Linked DNA regions of Homo sapiens: region 1 is linked to region 2. Evidence: promoter capture Hi-C in 16 types of primary human blood cells and fetal thymus (Javierre and others, 2016). All regions are on one chromosome and are shown on one strand. Each heading gives the region's core, a stretch centred on a gene start or on the middle of the fragment in contact. The rest is flanking DNA. Distances are from core to core; before and after follow the strand shown. Region 1 overlaps MRPL47 (mitochondrial ribosomal protein L47). Region 2 holds the start of GNB4 (G protein subunit beta 4).

The links. The method cuts DNA at HindIII sites, captures the fragments that hold promoters and counts their contacts. A CHiCAGO score of 5 or more calls a contact.
Region 1: a contact is called between a fragment that was not itself captured here and the fragment with the promoter of GNB4 in region 2, in 1 of 17 cell types (monocytes). The highest score is 5.7, in monocytes.

Annotation. Positions count from the first base shown.
Region 1 is chr3:179,593,428-179,599,666 of GRCh38, reverse strand. MRPL47 (mitochondrial ribosomal protein L47) reads left to right here. Exons shown (of 7, transcript NM_020409.3): 4 at 896-992; 5 at 5,772-5,902. Among named protein-coding and RNA genes, the nearest start is that of MRPL47, 8.1 kb to the left of the region's middle. The HindIII fragment of the contact is 2,497 bases long and covers 3,072-5,568 here.
Region 2 is chr3:179,448,528-179,455,173 of GRCh38, reverse strand. GNB4 (G protein subunit beta 4) reads left to right here and starts at 3,704. Exons shown (of 10, transcript NM_021629.4): 1 at 3,704-3,828. It also overlaps the pseudogene RPL29P34. RefSeq lists silencers at 3,534-3,683, 3,724-4,133. The HindIII fragment of the contact is 16,902 bases long and covers 1,687-6,646 here.

The DNA of each region.
Region 1 (6,239 bases), core at 3,071-5,570, 140 kb before region 2:
CTTCTGGTACTTATTGCCTGTCCCACTTATTATCCCACATCACATTACAGTTTCAGAAGCAGCGTGGTGGAGTTAAAATAGAATGGATTTTATACACAGAGATCAGGGATTTGAATCTTGAATTACCTGTATGACCCAGAATACCTTACTTCTCTCAGCCTTAGCTTCTTCGTTAAGTAAGTGGAAATAATACCAACCTCAGAAGGTGGTTGTGAAAACTAGATGAAATAAGTGTATATAAAATGTTTAACACATTGTCTGGCATATAATAGGTACTCAGTAAATGTTATTTATCTTCCATCTGCCTTCTCTACTCTCCACTCAGAATGTAAGGACTATGTTTTATGCCTCTTTGTAGCTCTCTTAGCACTTAATACATGTGGCAAATGGAAGGTTTATTGAACACATGGATAAGCAAAGATAGTTTATGTATAATGGATTATTCTTTGTAATCATATTCTATATATTGAGATTTCTAATATGTCTTTTTTTTTTTTTTGAAGCAAGATCTCACTTTATCCCCAGGCTGGAGTATAGTAGTGTGATCTTAGCCCACTATAGCCTCAAATTCCTAGGCTCAAGCAATCCTCCTGCCTTAGTCTCCCAAACAGCCGGGGCTACAGGTGTGTGCTGCCATGCCCGGCTAATTATATTTTTTATTTTTTGTAGTGATGTTTATTTTTTCTAGCTGTGTTGCCCAGGCTGGTATTGAACTCCCAAGGTCAAGCGATCCTCCTACCTCAGCCTCCCAAAGTGCTGGGATTACAGGTGTGAGCCACAGCACCTCGCCTCTAAGTGACTTTCAAGTACAGATAATTAATTTTGATGTCAGAAATCACAACTTTATTAACATAACCACAGAATAGCATCACAAGGTTTGTGTTCTTTTGTATAGGTATGTCTTACTGAAAGAAAGAAACATGCTTCTAACCCTAGAGCAGGAGGCCAAGCGGCAGAGATTGCCAATGCCAAGTCCAGAGCGGTTAGATAAGGTAAGGATTGGGAGAGGCTGGAGACTGGTATACATGATTACAGCTAAAAGGAGTGAGTATGTGGTTCCTGTATTTCTTGTCAAATAGATTTTTTTTTCTTATTCGTTTGATTTTTAGTAAATTTGAGTAGTGCAACCATCATAGCTCCTTTGGAAACATTTCCATCGCCCCTAAAAGAAATCTCATACTCACCTGCAGTCATTCCTCATTTCTACCTGCAACGTGTTTTTTGTTTTTTTTTTTTTGTTTGTGTGTGTGTGTGTGTGTGTGTGTGTGTCAGTGTGTCAGGTGGGTCTCACTCTGTCGCCCCCAGGCTGGAGTGCAGTGGTGTGATATCTTGGCTCACTGCAACCTCCACCTCCCAGGATCAAGCAATTCTCCTGCCTCAGCCTCCCAAGTTGCTGGGATTACAGGCACATACCACCATGCCAAGTTAATTTTTGTATCTTTGGTATAAATGTGGTTTCACCATGTTGGCCATGCTGGTCTCAAACTCTTAACCTCAAGTGACCTACTCACCTTGGCTTCCCAAACCTACCTGCAACTTCTAACATACATGTGGACAAATGTTTTTGAGTAGATACCTAGGAGTGAAATTGCTGGCTTATATGATAAATCTATATTTAGCATTTTAAGAAACCGCCAAACTGTATTCTAAAGTAGCTATACCACTTTACATTTGTAGTTCTGGTTTAACCATTTCCTTAGTAACTAGATCAGTTTTTTACTGCTTTTTAAAATAACTGTGGTAAAAATCACATAACATAAAATTTACTGTCTTGACCATTTTTAAGTGTAATAGTCAGTAGTGTTTAGTATATTTACAATATTGTGAGAAGTTGGTTACTTTTTTATTTTATTTTTTTGAGACGGAGTTTTGCTCTTGTTGTCCAGGCTGGAGTGCAATAGCACAGTCTCGGCTTGCTGCAACCTCCACCTCCCGGGTTCAAACGATTCTCCTGCCTCAGCCTCCCAAGTAGCTGAGACCACAGGCACACACCACCACTACTGGCTAATTTTTTGTATTTTTAATAGAGACGGGGTTTTACCATGTTGGCCAGGCTGGTCTTGAACTCCTGACCTCGTGATCTGCCCGCCTCAGCCTCCCAAAGTGCTGGGATTACAGGTGTGAGTCATCGTGCCTGGCCGAAGACTTAGGTTTTTATTTAGATGTATGTTTTTACTCGATGCTTTCAAGATCAACCCTTTATTGATTTTTTTCTGTGGCATAGTAAGTAGTGAGAACAGAACTCAGTTTTTATAATAGCATTAGTCCTGCTACCTAACCTTAGCTACTTTAGTTTCCTTTCCTCACACCAGTCGCAGCCATTTTTACCACACTGCCTTTAAGATGGAAGGACATAACGATCCCTGGAGAAAATCAAAGAAGGTATAAAATGAAACCTCATTGATTTACCCTAATTATGGAGAAGGTTATTCTGATGTAGTGAAAGTTGAGTTATATAACATTTTTTTCTTTTATCTTTATTTTGACATAATATTAGACTCACAGAAAAATTACAAGAATAGTAGAAGGAATTCTCATATACCCTCCAGATTGCTCTGTTTTACTGCATTTACCTTATCCTTCTATGCATCTATCAGTCCTCCATACACAGTATTTTTTCTCAAATGTTTGAGAGTAAGTTGTACACATGACATCCCTTTATCTATAAAAACTTCAGAAAAACCAGGATATTCCCTTATATAACCACTATGTAAATTTCAAAATCAGGAAATTAACATTGATACAGTTCTGTTAGCTGTAATCTACAGATCTTATTCAGAGTTTGTCAGTTATCCCAAGTGTCCTTTATGGCAAAAGAAAATTCTGCATCATGAATTTTCATGTGTCTCTTCAGTCTCCTTTAATCTGGAGACTCAGTCTTTGTGTTTCCTGACATTGAACTTTTTTAAAAGTATAGGGCCTGGGAGGTTGAGGCTGCAGTGAGCCACGATTGCACCACCAAACTCTAGGCTGGGTGACCGAGCAAGACCCTGTCTCAATAAATAAAAAATAAAAAGTGCATTGACAAGTAAGGATGCTTTATAAAGAACACGTTATTTGATGAAAAAGCTTTTGCTATAATGGTGCTGTTACAGAACTTTTGAACTTCAACCGTGGATTATCTGCTTTAAATATGTATTTCAGAGGTGAACTTCAGCCCAGTAGGTTATATGTACTGCACTTTCTCAATCAGTAGAACCCAAAATAATAAAAGTTTACTCCAGAGAAGCTGAAAGTGACCATAATTTTTTCAAACTTCATATACATCTGGTGTTTCCAGTGTTTTGTGACATACTACTAAGGAAACTTTATTAAGCAAAAATGTAAAAAAAATTCTCAATATAAGATAGAAACCGAAGATTTGGAACTGTTTAAGGAAGAGTAAAAGAGAAAAGAATTATAATTGGGATATAATTCTTATCACTGATGTGAGTTGATATCCAGTTGAAGCATATTACAGACAAATTTTACTTAGAGAATAATATAAAAATTAAGGGAGAAATTATATAATTCTGGCACAATAGTTAGCTATGATTGTAACTAAAGTATTAACTATCCATTTGAGATAAATGACCCTCACTATATGTGCTTCTCTTCAGAGTATTAGTATCTATTTATCACACAAATAAATGACATGTTAGTCCCCTTGTGTTTGAAATACAGAAACAAGGCAAATGTTGAAAGATTGATTATAATTTTGCAAGTGTATCTTTTTGTCTCTTTTAAAAACATGTGTTTCAAGGGCTACTCTGTAATGTTAATTCTTGGCTGTAAAGAGAAGTGTATACTCTTACCCTGGAACACAGTCCTATTTTATATTCTCTCAACTGACGCTCCTGGCACTGAGAAACTTATAGAAAAGAAGGCTCTTTGAGGTTGACTTGTTTTCAATAAGGTATATCTAAATAATACTTTTGATTTTCCTTCACATTTCTTGGCATGAACTTCTGAATGTTAATTCTGTGGACTTGGTAGCCATTTACTTTCTATCTTTGTGAGCTAACACTGGATTTCAGCTGGAAGCCTCAAGTCTTACCCTTGCTTAGGCAAACTCTTTAATGCAGTTAGTGAACAACCAGCTTTACTAAAAATTTCTAAAGATTAGAGAGTTTTATATAAAGCCCTTATCAATGTGGTCCCTTTACTCTCCTAAGTTTGCTTGTCTTCAAAATAGAATTTGTCTTAGTCATCATTTCTTTTTCAGGGATTTTGTAGAAAATAAAATAGTTAAGAGGAAGGCATGTGAATTCAGCTACTGTAAGGCATTTAGTGAAGTTGAGGATAGCAGAAGTGCTGAGTGTGAACTGAGCAGGTTATGGGCCAGGTGCAATGGCTCACGTCTGTAATCCCAGCACTTTGGGAGGCCAAGGCAAATAGATCACTTGAGCCCAAGGAGTTTGAGACCAGCCTGGGCTACATGGCAAAACCCTGTCTCTACCAAAAAAATACAAAAATTAGTCGGGTGTGGTGGTGCATGCCTGTAGTCCCAGCTACTTGGGAGGCTGAGGTGGGAGGATTGCTTGAGCCTGGGAGGCAGAGGTTGCAGTGAGCCAAGATCGTGCCACTGCACTCCAGCCTGGCTGACAGAGCTAGACCCTGTCTCAAAAAACAAAAACAAAACTGATTATGAAGTAATTTATCTAAATTTGTGGCTTTCATATCTTTTTCAGATCTCATAGCTACCTGGGGGATTATAATCTGTGCTTTTTTTGAGGATTCTTATGAGAAACAAATGTGCTTATGCAGTATTTGATATCTGTTGTGATGCTTAAGGGACATACACATAAAATGGCTCTCAGTATGTATTTAGGACTATGAAAAAGTTTGGCCCATCTCACATTACAATCCCCAACATATGAATATTTATATGTAAACAAATAGAAGGCCGGGTGCGGTTGCTCATGCCTGTAATCCCAGCACTTTGGGAGGCCAAGGTGGGCAGATCACCTGGGGCCAGGAGTTTGAGACCAGCCTGGCCAACATGGTGAAACCCCATCTCTAATAAAAATACAAAAAATTAGCCGGGTGTGGTGGCAGGTGCCTGTAATCCCAGCTGCTCAGGAGGCTGAGGCAGGAGAATTGCTTGAACCTGGAAGGTGGAGGTTGCAATGAGCCAAGATCACGCCACTGCGCTCTAGCCTGAGTGACAGAGCAAGACTCTGTCTAAAAAATATATATATGTATAAAACCCTGCCAATATATACATTATAAAACAATAGAAATCTTAAAGAGGTAAAAATAAATAGAAGTTTAATAGTATCATCTTGCATCTTGATAAATCTTTGGAGATTCATATCTGGATGGACTGCTATTCCTTTCCCTGTAGTAGCAACAGCTACCAAGCAGGCCACAATATCTGTGTCTGCATGTCAAGGACACAGTGATTAGTTGAGACCAGAACATGTCTTTTTTAATATAATGAAAATAGCAAATTATTATCACTTCTTATTAGCTCATTGAGTTTTGAAATAACATGAATCAAATTGGGTCTCCAAAAGGAATCTATGTAAGTGTATCTCACTCCAAACAAAACTAATGGAAATATATTTGTAGTTAAAACTGTAAGCTTTTTAAAAAATACAGAAAGTGGTAATCTAGACACCCATGTAGACATACTTGTGCCAAAAAGATTTTTAGGAAATACTTAACAGAGTGGTTCTTTGGCATAAATATTCATAAGTTTTCTGTAGCAGAAGTGTTTATACATTCTCTTTTTTGGGAATTTTGTAGTAGATGATTGTTGAAATTGTATCTTTCTATTCTCTTTTCAGGTAGTAGATTCCATGGATGCATTAGATAAAGTTGTCCAGGAAAGAGAAGATGCCCTAAGGCTTCTTCAGACTGGTCAAGAAAGAGCTAGACCTGGTGCTTGGAGAAGAGACATCTTTGGAAGAATCATCTGGTATGTAGTTAACACTGTGGCTCTTCTAAGATGAGAGTGGAAATCCATGCCTCATTCCCCTGCCCAATATCTTTTAAAAAAAAATTTGTACCATATGAGATAATATTAGAGATATGTCTAATAAAAGAAGAGGCCCCACACCCCTTTGGACTTTAATGAAGGAGGATATGAATGAAGGTAGCTTTATCTGGTAAAACCAGCCCAGACATCCCATTCCTATGATTCAGTTACCTATAAGTCTTTATTGTAGTGGTTCTTAGTCTTATATGAATCACAAGGCCTTTTGAGAATTTGATGAAAGTTAGGGATCGTTTCCTCAGAAAAATGTACATGTACA
Region 2 (6,646 bases), core at 2,455-4,954:
GGATGCACTTGGATGACAGATTCCAAATTCCCATGGTTAACGAGAACCTGAGTGGAAATAAACAAAAGCTATAACTGATTTGTACCACCAGTGTCAGAGGAGTACAGCAAAGGTGACTCAAAGTACAAACTGTACTTTGATATGGAAAATGCATTGTGTGTGAGCAAGAGGGAAGGCTTTAGGCATGACTACTCTGTATCAAGGATGTCTGTCTGAAACCACACATAGACTGACTTCTTACAGAATCTACTAGGGAATTGCTTCTCATGTCCTTGGGAAACTGTGCTGTAGATCCTGTTAGATAATTTCCATTTAATATTTTATAACTTATTTTGTTGTGGGTGAAATAAAATCTGTTACGGTAGTTGTGATGTTGTATGTATATAATTTGGCCTCATTTCAAACACAATAGAATTGGAATGCATACAACACATACAGGGCGGTACTGAAATATTGTACACTTTAATAGCTGTGTTCTTCACGGTGTGCTTGGCATCGTCTGAGAGCAAGGTAGGCTCAGAAAAAAATATAGACCATTTCTAGGGTAAAACTTAAAAGCAGGATATACAAACCTATGGCACTATGGATTACAGGGTAGCTCACTGAGTACAGCATTCAGATTCATCCAATGTAGGACCAAGAGCAGAGCTTCTCTGAACTTGATCATAGTGAAGCAAAACACCCTGCAAAAGAAACTGTAACTAAACTCCTAGAAAAGCAATGACCACTTTCTCCTCTCCTATGATTCTGACTAGCGTGTGGGATGGGGTGAGGTATGCAGGTTATTTGCATAAAACAAGCAGCCAAGTGCATTCACTCATTTATTTGTTCGTGGAGTACCTAGCAAATGCAAGGTGCTCTGTTAAACACTATGGCAGACACAAAGATGAAACGGACAAGGATTTTGTCTTCAAAGGTTCTCTAGTAGGGACCCCACTATGCTCTCTTAATAGAGTAGGATTTGAGAACATGGGCCTAATGAGTTAGAAATCTAATTATCAGCCAGTGGCACCCAAACAAAAGATCATGGGGCTTAATCCTCAGAAGTAGGATACATCTCTACAATTGTCTACACAAACCAGCAGGCATCAGAAATGTTAATAGCATACCCCTTCACCTTTCTCTCTGCCTCCCTTCCCAGTCTCTCTCTTTTGTTCTTCGTGGATTTCATTATCATTGGAAAAATCATGAATTGCTGGATCACTTAGATGCATTAGTGTGCTCTTATGAAATCATTCCTGATGACAAAATTCTTTTAATCAGCTCCACTTTCAGATTTTCAGTATAGGCTTGTCCTTTAACAAGTAAGTTTTTTTTTTTTTTTCCAGAACAATATGGAGCAGGTATGGCAAAACAGAAATACAATATTCTTGGAAGTAGATTCGTTTGGATAATAATTAAACTTTCCTTTTTCTGTACTTGGACTTTATTCTTCTAGTAATTTCTTTGTCTACATTAAATTTTCAGGAAGATTGACGATATCATTCTTTTAAACTCTTTAAAAGACAGTCAAATTCTTGTTACATCTTTTCAGGTTTTGTATTTTATGTTTAGGAGCTGTTCATTTATATTTCCCCTCATCTTTTCTGGAATAGACTATCTCATTGCTTCCCACTGTGTTTTCCTAAATACCAGCAACTTGTTTTTCAACAAATAATCTTAACCCAACAACCAGCTCTCAAAGCTTTATAACATCTGGTAAATGCTAGTGCACAGGAACAAGGCAGAAAAGAATCTAAAGAAAGAATATGGGGCCGGGATCGGTGGCTCACGCCTGTAATTCCAGCACTTTGGGAGGCCGAGGTGGGCGGATCACCTGAGGTCAGCAGATTGAGACCAGCCTGGTCAACACGGTGAAACCCCGTGTCTACTAAAAATACAAAAAATCAGCCGGGCGTGGTGGCTTGTGCCTGTAATCCCAGACTTGGGAGGCTGAGACACGAGAATCGCTTGAATCCTGGAGGTGGAGGTTGCAGTGAGCTGACATCACATCACTGCACAGTGACTCCGTCTCAAAACAAAAAAACAAACAAAAAAAAGAAAGAATGTGGGCTTTGGAGTTGATCCAATCTGATGTCATGCAGGGCTCTACCAATACCTTCGTGACTCCGATAAATTAATCTTACCAGGGCATCAGTTTGCTTATCTGTAAAATGGGGATAAAATTCACACTTCAAGGTAATTATGAGGATTAAGTACAGTATAAGAAAGCAGAGAGCATGGTCCGTAATAGGCACTCTTTAACAATTTCCCTTTGCTTCCTCCGAAAAACGACAATCATAAAACTCAGGATTTAATCATTAAAACATAAATAGTTACAGATGCAAAACACTCATGTCCCAACGAGCTCTTCTGACACTTTGATATGCAGAATATTTGGCATTTCTTTCTTCTTAATGGAAAAATGCTCCTAATATTAGTAAAAATGAAAATTTTGGGGGAAAAATTATCCACAGTTTCTTTATCTGTGGATAAAGAAAATAGAAACAGCTGCTTCTATTTTTGTCACGGCCTGGCTTTTATACAAAACGGTCACATTTTCCCCACAGTCACAAACAGGGTGTGTTTATCATGGCATCACCTCTTTCAAGGGACTAATAGATTTATTCCAGGTGATAGTGGGAAGCAGCTACAGAAGGAGGATTGGAAGGCTGAGGGGTTGTTAAAGTTATCTGATGATATTGTTCGAACATTTCTCCGGCACAGAAACTCCACAAAGAACTCCTCTGCAGTTTTCGCTACCCAGGGCTGTTTCTTTAAATTGTTTGACGTCAGAGAAGGAATGCTATAGCAACAGTCTGTCAAACTGGAATTAACTCAGAAGAAAAATGGGGGTGGGGAGAGGAAAAATGCTCCCAGGCGGTACTGACTTCAGAGGAAGCAAATTGGATAGATGCATTTATTTTATGACATTTTAAACATAAAACACCCAGATAAATGTGAAAAAAAAAAAAACTCGATTGAGATGCATGTGGTGTTTAACTCATGCAGAGAAGAGCGACTTGGCAGGGATATCTGGAAGGCCTTCCAGTTTTATCAATGACAATAGGAACAATAACTTCCAAGTATTGGCCATTTATTTGGAGGCAGGCTTCGTGCAAACATCACTTCATTTAATATGCTTAGCACCTTTATGAGGCAGGTATCAGTATCTTTATTTTGGCGATGACGAAACTTAGGCCCGAGACGGTACACGGTCCTACAACTAGTGATGGAAGAGCGGGGACTGCAACGCAAGGTTGTGCAACTCTGGGCTTCAGTTTACTTTCTGACATTTAGAATTCCAGAATGGGAAACCTAAATGGGGCCTTTGGGGTCTTCTAGCTCTGCCCTTCGATCCTGCTAACAAGCAAACTGGCGCCTGTCAGCGCCGGAAAGGAAACTGGCCACGCCACTTAGACGGGCGCTACTTAGCAGCGTGCCCCGGCGCCACACCAACAAGAAAACGAAACTGCCCGGGAATGAATGTTTTTCTTCTCCTTCTGGCAGGAAACGAGAGAGAAAATAGGAAGCAGAAGCTGCGCGCGGCGCCCGCTCCCTTCGCCCCCCGCCCGGGCTGCGCGCGCTCCGAGGGTCTGCGCGTCCCCGGCACGTCCCCGCCGGGCCCGCGCGCCTCGTGCCTCGCGCCTCGCGCCTCCAGCCACGTCCCCGCCCCGGCTCCGGCGCGCCGCGGAGTTGGCTGCTGGGAGGTGCGGGACTGGGTGTGGCCGGCGGCTCTGGTCTCGGCTGTGAGCTGCGCTCTCCACGCCGGCTCCGCGCTCCAGGGGCTGCTGAGCGCCCAGCGGACACCGGCAGCGCGCGGTCGACGCGGGCCTGAGCTCCCTCCAGGTAGGCGGCGAGCTCGCGAGCGGCGGCTCGTCGGTGCGCCCCGCGAAGCGATCCCGGGCTTCTCGCAGGGACGTGGGGCGCCGCGAGCCACCCCTGCGGAACGGGGCCCGGGTGACGGCGCGGGGCGGGGCGGGTCTCCCCGGGCTCGGGCGGCCGACGCTGCCCGGGAGGGACGAGGAGGGCGCGCCTGTGTCGCGCCCAGCTGCCACGCGGGAACTGGCCCCACGACCGCCGGCGCAGGCACTTCCCGGGCGGTCCAGACCGCTCGCCCCGGGGAGCGAGGAACGGTCGGCGGTCCAAGTCCTGCAGACCCCCCTGGTTTCTCGTCACTCCCCGAGGCCTCCTTCCAGGAACTCAGAGCACGAGCCCGTGCGTGCCCCCAAAATAACGGGTATTCGGGACTGCCCAGCAGGGCTGTTGGGTGGAGAGTGCTTGGAAGACTCATAAAAGTTCTACGCTGAGTCCAAAATTAGTCCAATGGTTTTGTTTCAGATTTATTTTGGAAATGATATAATGTCCAGAGTTTGGGGATGGGAGGGGATTGATGAATTTTGAATACTTGTGAGTTCAGTACAATAAAAAGTGTTTTGCTTTTCTCTCCACCTTTTTCTGCTTCAGAACACAGATGATTGCCATATACTTTGATATGTATTGCTATTCGCTAAGGGAACGTTGAATTTTCAAAAGTTTGAAACCAGGCTTTCATTTGTTTATACAAGCAATACTTTGTTATTTTTCGTCTCCTTGTGTTCCCTTTTCTCCCACTCCTTCCCTTTCTCTTTCCATAAAGGATAAGGATGCATCTTTCTCCCTCTCAGCCACCGACAAAGTAGCTTGGCGTGTGGCTTAGCGGGAAGTTTTCTTAAAACGTTCAAAATTTAATTGTTGATTAGAACTTTTATTATGAGTCCGTCTCAGTGTTGCAAACAGAGTTTATGACCATTAAGTACATCTTCTAGGACAGAGACAGAACACACGCTACTTAATTTAAGATGGGAGGGAAGTTATTTCTAGTCGGAGAGGAGGACGGCTGATTAGGTGCATTCAAAATTGTGTGCTTCGAGTCTCTGCCATTGTTCATTTTAATACTCTTCAGTTTGGGGCTTTTGGTTTACTACTGATCCTAGGCTCTGAAAATTTACTGTATATTTCAGTATGTGGCTTAAAGACATTTTAAGATTTTCCATGTTGCATTTTGGTTTGTAGATGAATTTGAAACTGAAATAGAAACTTTTAAAATATCATCTTATTGAACGTTGTCAACCCTCTGTATATACATTTATAAAACTGATTGATACAGCTTGTGATATTTTAGGTTGGTTCAACTCTTTGTGGGCCCATAAACATTATTTAGGAAGTTATTCCGAGTCTTTGGCCTTTGTTAACCTGTAGAATTGTTTCTTTTAAACAATTGGCATGTAAGTATGTCAGCACATACTTTTACACTTTAAAAATAGACTCTGGGGCAATTTGAAAATTAAGAATTGGAACTAAGTGTTGGACATTCTTCTGGCCTTACCAAATACTGCCTGAGATGGTGTGATTTCTCTTAGGCATGTTATTGAAGTCAGCTGGCTGTATCATCAGTTTCTTTACCTTGCTGACTATTTTAATCTGCGTCTGTTATGGACTTATTTATTAAAATATCTCTTCTGGGCTGGGGCAGTGCTGTAAGTTATTCTACTTATATCTCACAGTAACACCATTATCTACTTCCACAGGTAAGGAAATTGTCTGTGAGGTTTTAAGTAACTTGGCAGTGGTCATGTAGGTGTTAGGTAACTCAACTGGGATTCGAAGCAAGACCCCTCTGTTTCCAAAGTCCATGTTCTTTCCCCTGAGCCATATTAACTTAGTTCGAGGGCATGAGGAGTGACCCTCAATTACTCATTAGCATGTGTGTAAAATATCCAAGACATGCCAGAAGCATGTTTGTTTTTCCAGCATGATCATTATTGTCTGTCCCATGTTTTTATACAGCTTCTCACATCAGCCATTCTCTTCTCACCACTCTACTCCTAGTTAAATGTCTTGTTCCAAGTTCAAAACCTCCCTTTTGCCAGGGCACAGTGTATCCTATTGATATTAATAGGTAGTGATGGCTTAATTATCTTGATAAAACAGTAACTCCATTTTAATGTGGGTTCTCTAGAGATAGAGTTATAACTAATTTGGAAGGTTACAAACAGGATTGCGGTCAATTTTGGGATATGAGAACCCTTTGATATCCCTCAAATTAAACTAGAGGATATTTTGATGGATATTTCCCTCTGCAATTTATCATACTCTCTCCTGCACCTTCAATTTGTCAGTTACTACAGAATCATTTACATTATTGTACAGTCTGCCATTTTAAAATAAAATGGTTTCTTGATCCAGTGTTCTGCTTCAGTGACTGCCTCATTTCTTTTTATTTATTTATTTTTATAAATAGAAGCGGGATCTCGCTGTGTTGCCCAGGCTGGTCTTGAACTCTTGGGCTCAAGCAGTCCACCCACCTCAGCCTCCCAAAGTGTTAGGATTACAGGCGTGAGCCACGGCGTCTGGCCCTGCCTCATTTCTCTACCTCACCTTGAGGAAGCGTAGTTTTTTGACAGAACAAAAAATAAATACAGGAGTGAGAACCAGAAACTAATTAGTTACCTACAGGCACCGGGTAGGAACTGAGTAAATGGGAACAACAGAAGGAATGGCCTTGTTCTGAATGTACTTTTTTGCATAGTTTTGAGTTTTGGAAACTGTTAGTCTTTTTTATGTTCAAAAATAAAATTAACAAGATGTGGAGAGTGGGACTCCAAAACAATACAAACAGCAACAA